2 separate regions of the Homo sapiens genome follow, and region 2 is linked to region 1. Evidence: promoter capture Hi-C in 16 types of primary human blood cells and fetal thymus (Javierre and others, 2016). All regions are on one chromosome and are shown on one strand. Each heading gives the region's core, a stretch centred on a gene start or on the middle of the fragment in contact. The rest is flanking DNA. Distances are from core to core; before and after follow the strand shown. Region 1 holds the start of PHF20L1 (PHD finger protein 20 like 1). Region 2 holds the start of WASHC5 (WASH complex subunit 5).

Region 1 (5,778 bases), core at 990-3,489:
CTATATAAAGTTCTGTGCAATCTGCAGGCAATCTTGATAATGATTTAAGAAAAAGAACAAAGAAAACTATCTAAAAAGAATGAGTAAATGGACTGTTAAAAATTGTTAATAGCTAAAAATGCTTTACATTTGAGCTTCCAGATACCCAAGAAAATTCTCCACGGGGAGAGCTGAAAATGCTTTCCTGCCTTTGAAAAATTAAGACAGCTGAGTGTTCTGGAATAGGACTACTGAAATTCTTGAGAACAAAATCAATTTTTAATTTCAACAAATATTTGTTGAGTGCCTCATAATACAAAACACTAGATAAGGCCCTACAGCACACAAAGATGGAGGAAACAGTAGGCACACTCCTCTGCCAGTGAAGATACCACTAATTCCTCTTGGGATTAGGATTTTTCATTACCCATGATCTCCCACCTTGGTAGCACATAATTCAATAATTTTAATTTAACATACAGTATTACAAAAGAGACTGCTTTCTTATACTTTACATTCAACAAGCAATAATAACATGCTTTTGTTAACTGAGTATTTCTACTATATTTCAATTTAGACAGTGTCCACATTGATAATAAAAGTGGTTGTAATGCTAGAACAAAAACTGCAAAGGAGTACCTATGTATCCCTAGGTCATTCACATGCAAAGTACTATATTTTGGGCCACAGTGGCCACCGAGCACACTTGAGGTGGCCTCTTTTTCACTAATGGGTATGTGAGGAATATGAATACATTTTGAGATAACCTAATCAAAACATAACTCATAATTAAGAATGTAAATTGATTGTTATCAGGGGCGAGGAGAGATCCGTAAAATGTCTTTCGGTATTTGAGATCACTAATGACTATGTTCCCTACAGTTTAAAAAGAAAAAAAGAAACACACACACTTGTCATCTTTTATAATGGTTTTGTCACAATTCATAATAGACAAAATAGAACAACAAACATAAAATTCCAACTGCTCCCTCTTTTCTCTTTGAAAGAGTCTGATAGGTAAGGGAAAAAATAGCATCAATACTGGCCATGAAAATATGCGAACTCAAATACCCATGGTTGGAGGGGGAGAGTGGGTATCCTCCTGCTATGGTATAAGCAAATATTAGAGCATTAAAAAGTTAACAGGGAGCTTGCCCAGGGTGTAGCTGGTGCAAAAGAACAAATGTATGAATATTTTTAATAGAGGTCTTGTCAGTGCGCAACACGTAAGGCAGTTACTTAAATGTTTGTGTAGAAATCGAATCAACCTTTTCTGCTGTCTGTCACAGGAAGAATTCAGTAAGGGATAGTTCACAAGGTACACTAACATCTAGAATCAAACTTAGAGCCCATAATTAAGTGATGGATTGAATGAGTATAATCCCCCAGTGACACTTAGGGATGAAGTACCAGAAAAAAAACAAGATTTTCCTTTGTCTTAGGTTCGAAGAGGGAAGGATGAAGAGGGATTTGAATTAAGGAACTTTCATAAAGTAAGACAGTCTACTGGGAGTAAAACTTGAAGCAAAAACAAGGCAGAAAGCACGGAGAGGAGTAAAAACAGTAAGGAAAGGAGCAAAGAATGGCAAGAAATAGGACAGTGGAAGTTTTCGGAGATGACAAGTTAGAGGGAAGAAGAAATGAGCAAGAAGACATAGAGACCGACAATGTAAAGCAATGGTCAGAGAATGACCGCCAGGCCAAAAAAGGTGAGGAGGTGAGGCCAGACAGAGAGGGGGTGGCACGAGACAGGCAGGAAAGGCTGACAGGGCTGGCAGGGAGCTGGAGAAGCCTCCAGGTTTGACAGCCATCCGGCCCTCCGCAGGGGGGTAAGGAAGGGAGGGGAAGAGGGAGCTGCGGCGCCCAGACAATAGGGCCGGCGAGTTACGGGGAGGGAGGCGGGAGGGGAGCGGGCCGGAAAGAGAGACACCAGAATGGGGGCGTCCCGGGCGGCCCGGCGGGGGCCAGGCGGCCTGCCGGCTCAGCCGCCGCCGCCTCTTACCGACTCGGCCTCCTCTCTGCACAGCAGCCGGGCCGTCCGGGGCCGAGCTGGGGCACGAGCAGGGCGGCCAGCCCGGGCCTCTGCCTCTGCCTCCGCCCAGGCAGCGGCCGGGGAGGGAGCAGGAGCGGAGCGAGCTGGGGCCGCAGCGCCGGATCCGCCCAAGGTTTCGCGGGAGGGAGCTGGGTCCGAGCCCTCAAGCTCGCTCAGGGTCCGCTGCCATCGCCGCCGCCGCCGCCGCCTCCGCCGCCGGCCAGCCCTGACGCGACGCCGGGCCCCGGCGACGTCAGCCGCCCGCGACGTGCCGGAAGCGGGCCTGGCCTTGTCACGTGACTCACGAGGGTTGGGCCCGGGCCGCGCAGCCGATTGGCGGGCCGCCGTAGGAGGCGGGGCTTTGCGGTCGTTGACGGACCGCTAGCGGGCGGGGCTCTGGTTACTGGAGGAAAGAACGCGAGCTCTTGGTGCCTATTGGTAGTTGTGAAGTATTTGACCTTTGAGATTTGAGGACGAAGGGCATTGTTTATTATTCTTGATTCGTTGGGAACCACGTCACCAAAACCCCTTTACCCAGGACCCTTGGCAAACTTTTTCAAATGCATTACATGCTTTCTTAGATATCCATCCCACTCCACATCAAGAATAGAGCATGGTTACTACTACAAAATCAATAAACCTCCCTTGAATGGATGCTTTGTGATAGACACTAGGCTGTAAATATGTCACATGACAATCACAACTGTACAACTGTATTACAATTGTATTGCTTTCCAGTCTTGGAGATCTTTACAATACAAAGACGAATATTACTAAGATGTGTGTACGCGCGTGCTCAGGCACAGCTGAATAACCTTAACCTATGGCTACATTGATATCACTTCCCCAAGACTACACAGCTAATGATAGCAGAACTGCTTTTATCGAATACCTACCCTCCCAAACTTTACTAAGCACAGGAGACAGTATCCTTGCTGTGGGGAGAAACCAATAAGTGAACACATTGAAAATAATATTGAAATGAAACATCTTTTTTCTCTTGGTTTCCACTGTACCACTCTGGTTTTCAAGTGCAACGTTGCATACAAATGTCACTTATATTTATCTTGCTTCATAGTGTGGAGTTAAAATAGCAAAGTAACTCTCTTTAAGCTTCAGTTATAGTAAGATTTGGTAAATTAAACAATCATTCTTTTTTTATTCAACAAACATTCATTCAGCATCTACTAAGTCACTAATAGCTACTGAGCTAGACTGAGCATGGTGATACATAGAAAAGATATAAATAAGACAGTCTCTAGTGGATATTTGTTATAGAAAAGATATAAATAAGACAGTCTCTAGTGGATATTTGTTATCTTGTTTTTTGGTTGCCCAGCATCTCAACTCTCTTTCCATGTTTGAGAAATTTCTCATCATGGTTGCATTAGTTCAGAACACCAAATACTTGTAGCATCTTCCTTAGGACATGACAGGATTATACTTTCCACCCTCCTTAGAATTATGTATGGCTATTTGATTTGCTTTGGCTGATAAAATGTAATTAGAAGTGAGATTTGTCATGGCCAGTTGGTAATTTTTAATGCCAGCTCACCAAAGTTTCTGTCTCTGGCACAGTGTAAAGCACTGCTTGAGATGATAGCTGCTCTACCATCCAGGTTCTAGACAGATTATGATGAACCAAGGCCTCACTGATAATCTACAACTACTGTGTTGTATAAGGAAAAAAATAAATATTTATTATTTTAACTATGGAGATTTGGGTGCTGGATTGTTTGTTACATGGCATAATCCTACCCAAACTAAATGATACATCCACCTTATGAATCTTGGATGCAGAATCAACCTCCCACTAAATAAGATGAAAATATCAGAAACTCATGTTTCCAGTCTCCCTTGCAGCTAAAGTTCTAGCCTCAAGTAAAACTCTTTTACCAAGGACTTTGTATCAGAAGTTGCTAATGATGTTCAAAATAAGGAAACTTTTCTCCCACATCTGTGGCAGTACCAGTATTCAAGTTTCTGATGGTCAGCCTGGAGTTAAATCTTTCTGAACTCTGGCAGAACCCCTGCTGAATCACAAGCTAGTGACTGAGAAAAAATAAATATCTATTATTATACACCACTAAAAACTTGAGGTTATTTGCAATTTAAATAAAATACATACATAAAGAACAACAGATTCTGTCCATTCTCCCAACTATTTGTTGAGAATCCACCCTGGAAAGATGATTGTTCCATTTTAATTGGAACTTGACAATGGGTCTTCCAATAATGACACTTGAAAGAAAAAAATAAAATAAGGTCTTATGTAAATGATCCCTAGCTTCAGTGAATTGTATAGGCTTAGTAATCCTCTGTGGAGTTAATACCGTCCCCTAGAGGGCACTTTGGAAATGGAGGATGGTATTTTATTGTCTCAGGATTGGGGTAGGGCACTGCTACTATTTAGTGGGAAGGGACCAGGGCTGCTAGATATCCTGAAATGCACAGTGCAGTTCCATACCTTGAAGAATTGCCCCAGGTCATGCATGACTTCTAGATGTCCTTCCAGACATTCATGTAGGTGAAAAACCTGTTTATAATTGTCCCTGCCTAGAACTGCATTTCACATATAAGTATTTTTGGAAGGTTTTAATATACATTAAATTTTACAGGAATGAAGCAACTGTGTAATGTAAGGAAACACTGACCTTTTTTCTGAACATTATCAAGAGTCTATCTCATTTTAAAATATCATGCCACCAACGGCTAATTACTCATAGTATTTGAGGCACTGATAGAATGCACCTGTGTCAGTCTAGTTGCGTAGCTGTTACATTTAGGGAAATCTAAATTTAGATACAAGCACCTCACTACTTCATTATATATTTCTGTGATACATGGATGAATGTTAAGTATTGAAATATATATGATTTTTATGAATTATTTTCATAAATTTTTTATATTATCATAGTCATATTGATTTTTAAGTATATATGTATAGCTTGGTTATGTTATTTATGAAGTTAATTTTGGGAAGTGGAGAGGGTGTGAATATAATATTGACTCTAAAAGGAAGGCACTAAGCCTGATAAAACTGACAAAAAATTCAGGTAGGATGTCATTTCCTCTTTTAACCACATAGAGTCAAAGGTCAGGATCAGAGTAGGGATACAGGATATACAAAATTCTAGTACTGACTCCCTGGCCATGTAGTGAAGCCGTGCATTGATCTGTCCCTTCTCCTCTCTTCCACCCAGCACACCCTGTTCCAGATGGTTGATGCCCAGCCATCAGTCACTCCATCTCCAAATATAGAAAGAAAGAACTTACAGCTGTGTTTGAGCAGAACCAAACAAGCAGTGAGCAAATTATCTTGAAACAACAGTTGTTAGGCAGAAATCACTGAACTAAATTCCTCCAACATTAAAAATATGAATATGGAACCATAATGTCTCCTGGAATATTTAACAAATGTATACCTATTTTAAGGTAGGAAAAAAAGTTACTACTAAATACCAGATACTCCTTGATTACAAATAAAACACAAGATAGCTATTTTTTGTGTGTTTACTTAATATTTACAATTAGCATTAGTAAAGAAAATCAAAGCAGTTCAAGTTTTTTTTAAGGTTAGTTTAGCAGAAACGTAAACTACTGTGATAGCCTCTGTCAAATCTCTTCATTCCATGTGCATAAAAATCTTTGAAAATAGCACTGACATCATTTTCCTCACCTGCCAAAGAGCTCACTTATCTTTCCTCTGTCACCATATCCCTTTATCAACTGAACAGAAATTATAGTTATTCCAGAATTAATCCCTG
Region 2 (5,778 bases), core at 2,162-4,661, 7.7 Mb after region 1:
GATTTTACCCCTCTCGCAAGGGGACATTTAGCAGTATCTGTAGACTTTGTGGTTGGCATCTAGCGGGCAGAGGCCAGGGATGCTCTTAAGCATCCTACAAAACACAGGACAGCCCTCACCCTGACCCCACAGCAAAAAATTATCTGGCCTAAAATGTCAATAGTGCATCAGTTGAGAATAACTGGTTTAAATCAATCTCTCTTGGATCCCTCCCCAGGTAATAACACTGATCTTTTTCTTCCCGGTACCTATGATCTCCAAGAAAGTTTAGAACAAGTTGTGCATTTCCTGAGTTTTTTCTCTGCATGTTATTTATAGACAATATGTTGACTTCCTTTAAATCCATGGGAGCCTTGTACAAGTCAGCCAGAGCTGCCTCTCCTTTTTCAACATGCAAGGATAATCCCTTCTCTCTGAATCCTTCTCATACAATTGCTTTTCCCTCCCTCATGCTACCATTATCCCTATCACATGCACATGTACACAACACACTCCTATTATGAAACTCATCACAACTATTTGCTCACATGTCTGCAGCTTCTTTAAACTGACACCTCCTTAAACTAGAACCCTGACATATTCTATTGCATATAAAGCAATTCCTCACACAAAATAGGGGACCAATAAAGATTTGGCCAGTTACAAAAATAACAACAGACATCATCATTTCTCGGTCACCTACAGAATGCCATAAACTGGTGTCCCGGCACTTTATTCTCCTTATCGCTAATTCTCACTGCAATCTACATAACTGAAGAGGAAATTGAGGTCCAGAGAGTTTATTCAAACGACCTTCCCGTGGCCTTACTTTTAAAGTCAGTTCAAACAAAATCTATTTGGATCAAAAATTCGTAATCTTGCCCCTACACACTTGAGGCGAAAGGATGGAGAGATGGCGTCTCGGACAGGAGGGTAAACTGTCCCAGACTCACTACCGTGGCGTGAAAAGTTCCACAACCATAATCCGGGTAGACGGACCCCCGGCTCGGAGTCCCCGTGGAGTGTCCCTGAGGGTGGCGAAACTCCTGCCACCCTCCCCATTGCCGTCCCCCGCTTCTTCCCTACCTGGTAGTCCAAGCTGTCTCCGTCTGGTGGCACCCCAATTTCCCCTGCCTAGACCCACCTCCTTTCCTCAGCCCCCTTCGCCTGCCGCTGAAAAGTGAGAGCGGGCTCTTGCGTCATCAGCCGTCGCCGGCGAGTGGTCACATGATGCCCCTCCCTGCTCCCAGCCGCTTCGGTCATGTGACCGCCTGGGGAGTCAGGGGCGGAAGTCGGGGTCTGACCCGCTCCAGGTCCGGGACTGCGGATAGAAGAGGACCGCCGCCTTGAGGGAGGGGTGGAAACTGGGTGCCGGCTCCGCGCGCGACCTCCGGCCCTGCGCGTGCGCCGTGGCGCGGCCCGGCTGACAGGTGAGTGGGGATGGAGTGAGCGCGCCCCATTTTTGCATGGCCCCCTTCCCCTCCCCGCTGGGCCGCGCTGGCCACGGGGAGGTCTGCAGAGTCGCGTGCAGCCTGGATGGGGGACTCGGGATGGAGGGCTTAGGGGCTTTCTGGGGCGGGGGCTGTAATCCAGCTCTTCGTCTCCGCTTAGGGGGAAATCATTTTGCACACCCCTTCCTCGCTTTAGGAAGCACCGTTCAGCTGCTTGGTCCGAATCTCATCCTTCCAAGTTTCCGGGAACACTGCTGTATGGATGTCGTCGTTATTTCTCTTTGCTTTTGAGAAAACTGAAAGGCTAGTAGTGAGGACTTTTACAGGCTGACAGACGTGGATTTGCATTCTAGTTATGCCATGGGCTGTGAGTTTGGGCAAGTCATTGCTGCTCGCCGCGCCTTAATGCCTTCACCTGTGACATACTGATGTCAAAATCCTTTGCATTTGGGGGAAAAAAAAAAAGTTCCCAGGGCCCTGATTCCTGGGATCGGAATCAGGATTATGATCGGACAGGAGAAAGAAAAAAAGTCACAGAGCCATAAAACTGGGTCTCCTGATTGCAAGCGCATGGAGCTCCCTCAAACATAGGTGAGGCGTAGTGAGGGCGAAGTTTTACTGTCTTTGTGCACTACAAGGGACACCTTCTCTAATTGTCCTTCACCTGCCTTTCCCAGGATTTCAGGTTCAGCCTCATTTCAGAACTTTTCTGGAAAATATATGCAGCTTGCATTTATCTTGATCAGCAACCGTTATATTTTGTTTGTGATAATGGATTTGTGGAGACCAGTGCTTCCTTTATGGAACTGAGGTTTTGCGAAAGGCTAAAAATAGACCTGCCTTCTTTTGTCCTCTGAAGAGGGTAAACTGTTTGTCCACGACAATTCGATTTCCTTAAGAAATATTATTCTGTACTCAGGGTAATTGGTGTAAGGATGTCATGCCTTATTCTTGAAAGCATGTCTTTTGATTAGGATTACTTCCCAAACTGAAAATCACAGTTCCACGCCAAATTATTAAAAATGAAGTTACCGGCACTTGTAAAAGAAAATAAGAAAATATAGTGGGATCTCTGGATTTCATGCCAATAATAATATAGCCTGTATTGAGAAAACTGATCTTCAAGTGTTCTTGATCCCTAGCACCAAGAGAACCTCTGAAAGGATAATTTAACATAGCTTCTTCTACAGTGTTTATTTGGACCTAATTCTAAAGTGGTTTTTTAAGACTTAGCTGAGTCTTAACACTTTGTAAAGCCATCCACCTACCTCTTAGCTGCAACTTGATTAGGCATTTTTAATGATGGTTCTTAGATTCTGTTCTTCAGGACTAGTCCTTCAGCCAACGAGGGGGCTATTTACCAAATACTCTAGCCAAATTATATTTGTACAAATTATGGAAATTCCATTTGTTACATGGAAAATATAACTAGTCCGGGTTAGGAGGTCTAGTACATAAAATGTAACTAAGTGATTTCCTTCTTTCAGCTAATCTTGTTTTAACTTCTTCCATCTTCAAAAACTTAGCAGGAGATGCTTGCATTATTAGAAATAGAAAACACAAGTGCCCTTCATGGGGCAAAACAGATTACAAGCAGTGAGTTCATTTCAGTAAAAGTATATTAAATATAACTCATATGCTTTTGCATTAAAAATTTAATATAAAGTTTATATATAGAATTTTAGAAAGGTGATTTACCTAGGTAATAAAGACCCATAATATTTGTTTTACTATTGCCGAACATATTTGGTTATTATTATCCTCCTCATGTTCTTTTAAAGTTGTCTACAGCGTAATTCTTGAGTAAGGGACTAAGGATTAAAACAAGAGATTGACACACGAAAGTCTTGATCTCTGTCGTTATCCCAGACTGAAGCTTCCCCGAATGTGTGCATGCAGGTGCTGAGTCTGTCTGTCCTTCTGTATGTTGGGAGAGAGTAGAGTAAAGGGCAAGTAATGTTACTTTGCTTTAAGTTGTTTTTCCCAGGGCCACATTGTTGCCCTGTCATGGTATCCCAAATCGGGTAGCCATTGGACCTGTTAATCATAGCTTGTCCTCCTCTTCATGAGTCTAGAGCAAGCTTGTGTAGCCTGAGGCCTGCAGGCCACATGCGGCCCAGAATGGCTTTGAATGTGCCCCAATACAAATTTGTAAACTTGCTTAAAACATTATGAGATTTTTTTGCGATTTTTTTTAAGGTCATCAGCTATTTTTGGTGTTAGTGTATTTTATGTGTGGCTCAAGACAATTCTTCTTCCAATATTGCCCAGGGAAGCCAAAAGATTGGACACTCCTGGTGTAAAGTTTCATCCTACTTAGACCTTCTGGGTTAGTTTGGTGGTCTTCAGAGGGCTTTAGTATGTGACTGTTTTGCCCACTGTCCATTATTTCCCCTTTCCCTCTCTGCTTTCCCAAGCCAGACCATATCCATGCAGAAAATGAAATGAAATTATCTGAAATTCAGCCTGTTAGAGATCAGTGTGGTTTAACAAGCAAGTATCACAGAGGAAACTAAAAGAACTTGTTAATAATGTATGCCTTAATGTGTATTACAGGGTACCTTCATGGGAGTTCTAGACAGCTGTAGTGGCTTCTTGGCTCTCAGATCCAATCCAGTCTACTTCTTCTGTTTCCGCCCCTAGCTGACTCTGCTCCAGCCACTTTAGCCACCTTGCTAGCCATCTAGCACATTCCTGCCCTGGGGCCTTTGCACTTACTTGTAACCTCTGCTTGGGATGCCATTATTAGGATCATTATCTATTGCTGCATAATAAACTATGCCAGAACCCAGTGGCTTAAGACAATAAGCTTTATAGCATCTATGGTCCGGAGGGTAGGGCATAGCTGGCTGCCTTTGGCTCTGGGGCTTTTAGAACATTGCAGTCAGGCTGGGAACAAGGAGCTATGGTCTTATCTGAAGGCTGGACTGGGATTATAAGGGATCTACTTTCAAGTTCACTCAGGTGGTTTTTGGCAAGCCTCAGTTCCTTGTCATATGGGCTTCTCCCCAGGGCTCTCTCACACCATGATATGTTGCTTCCCCTGGACTAGCAAGCTACAGAGGGTGCCCAAGCCAGAAGTTAGTCTTTTCGAAATCTAATCTCAGAAGTGCACTGTATCTTTTGTTTCTATCCTATTTCCTTCCCCCCCTCCCCCTTTTTTTTTTTTGAGATGAAGTCTCACTCTGTCACCCAGGCTGGAGTGCAGTGGTGCAATCTCGGTTCACTGCAACCTCCGCCTCCTGGGTTTAAGCAATTCTCCTGCCTCAGCCTCCCGAGTAGCTGGGATTACAGGTTTTTGCCACCATGCCTGGCTAATTTTTGTATTTTTAGTAGAGCCGGGGTGATCCCGGCTCTCCTAACCTCAGGTGATCCATGTGCCTCAGCCTCTCAAAGTGCTGGAATTACAGGAGTGAGTCACCACACCTGGCCCTATTCTCCTCTTTAGGAGGGAGTCAGTAAGTCAGCTTATACTCAAGGGAAGGAACCTACATAGAACATGAATACCAGGAGGCAGAGATCATTAGGGACCACTTTAGAAAGCTGCTGACCATACCCAGATATCCATACTGCTTGCTCTCTCATTTCCTTCTGACTTCTGCCCGAGGTGCTCTATGGAAACTAGCATATGCCCCATCCTTTATTATGTTTTTTCTTCACGGCACTTATCACAGCCTAATATATAAAGCTCATTTTCACAAATTTCAAGATACATTTGTAATCAAAACTTTTTCTTCTCCTTTTTATGAAACATTTTTCTGTATTTTGTAATCACTCTAGCATTTTTCAGATATGAACTATTCTTAATAGCAAGAATCTCCTATACTTGACATGTGAGAAAATTTTTTTTTTTTTTTTTTTTTGAGAGAGGGTCTCATTGTCACCCAGGCAAGAGTGCAGTGGCACGATCATGGCTCACTGCAGCCTCAACCTCCAGGGCTCAAGCAATCCTCCCACCTCAGCCTCCCTTGTCACTGGGACTACAGGCTCGCACCACCATACCTGACTGATATTCTTTTGATTTTTAGTAGAGACAAGGTCTCGCTATTGTTGCCCAGACTGGTCTTGAACTCTTGAGCTCAAGCATTCCTCCTACCTTGGCCTTCTAAAGTACTAGGATTACAGGTGTGAGCCACCGTTGCCAGGCCTAAAAACATTTCTAAAGATTGTTCCCTCACCTACTTGTTGTTCCCTCACCGACTTCTAGTGGTTTTTAGGACATAGCTCTCTTTTTCCAAAGATAAGACAAATGGCACAATTCCTGTAAGGAAATTGCAATAATCAGCGGAAGCAGAGAACTGAAAAGATGGGGATTGGAGGAAAATGCAGTAGTACAATACAGAAATAG

Evidence for each region. The method cuts DNA at HindIII sites, captures the fragments that hold promoters and counts their contacts. A CHiCAGO score of 5 or more calls a contact.
Region 2: a contact is called between a fragment that was not itself captured here and the fragment with the promoter of PHF20L1 in region 1, in 1 of 17 cell types (total B cells). The highest score is 8.5, in total B cells.

What each region holds. Positions count from the first base shown.
Region 1 is chr8:132,771,849-132,777,626 of GRCh38, reverse strand. PHF20L1 (PHD finger protein 20 like 1) reads right to left here and starts at 2,239. Exons shown (of 21, transcript NM_016018.5): 1 at 1,982-2,239. It also overlaps a transcript of TMEM71 not described here. RefSeq lists a silencer at 1,805-2,254 and an enhancer at 2,009-2,510. The HindIII fragment of the contact is 4,916 bases long and covers 1-3,126 here.
Region 2 is chr8:125,087,246-125,093,023 of GRCh38, reverse strand. WASHC5 (WASH complex subunit 5) reads left to right here and starts at 1,232. Exons shown (of 29, transcript NM_014846.4): 1 at 1,232-1,409. NSMCE2 (NSE2 SUMO ligase component of SMC5/6 complex) reads right to left here and starts at 1,164. Exons shown (of 8, transcript NM_173685.4): 1 at 1,066-1,164. RefSeq lists an enhancer at 1,073-1,292 and a silencer at 1,343-1,512. The HindIII fragment of the contact is 205 bases long and covers 3,309-3,513 here.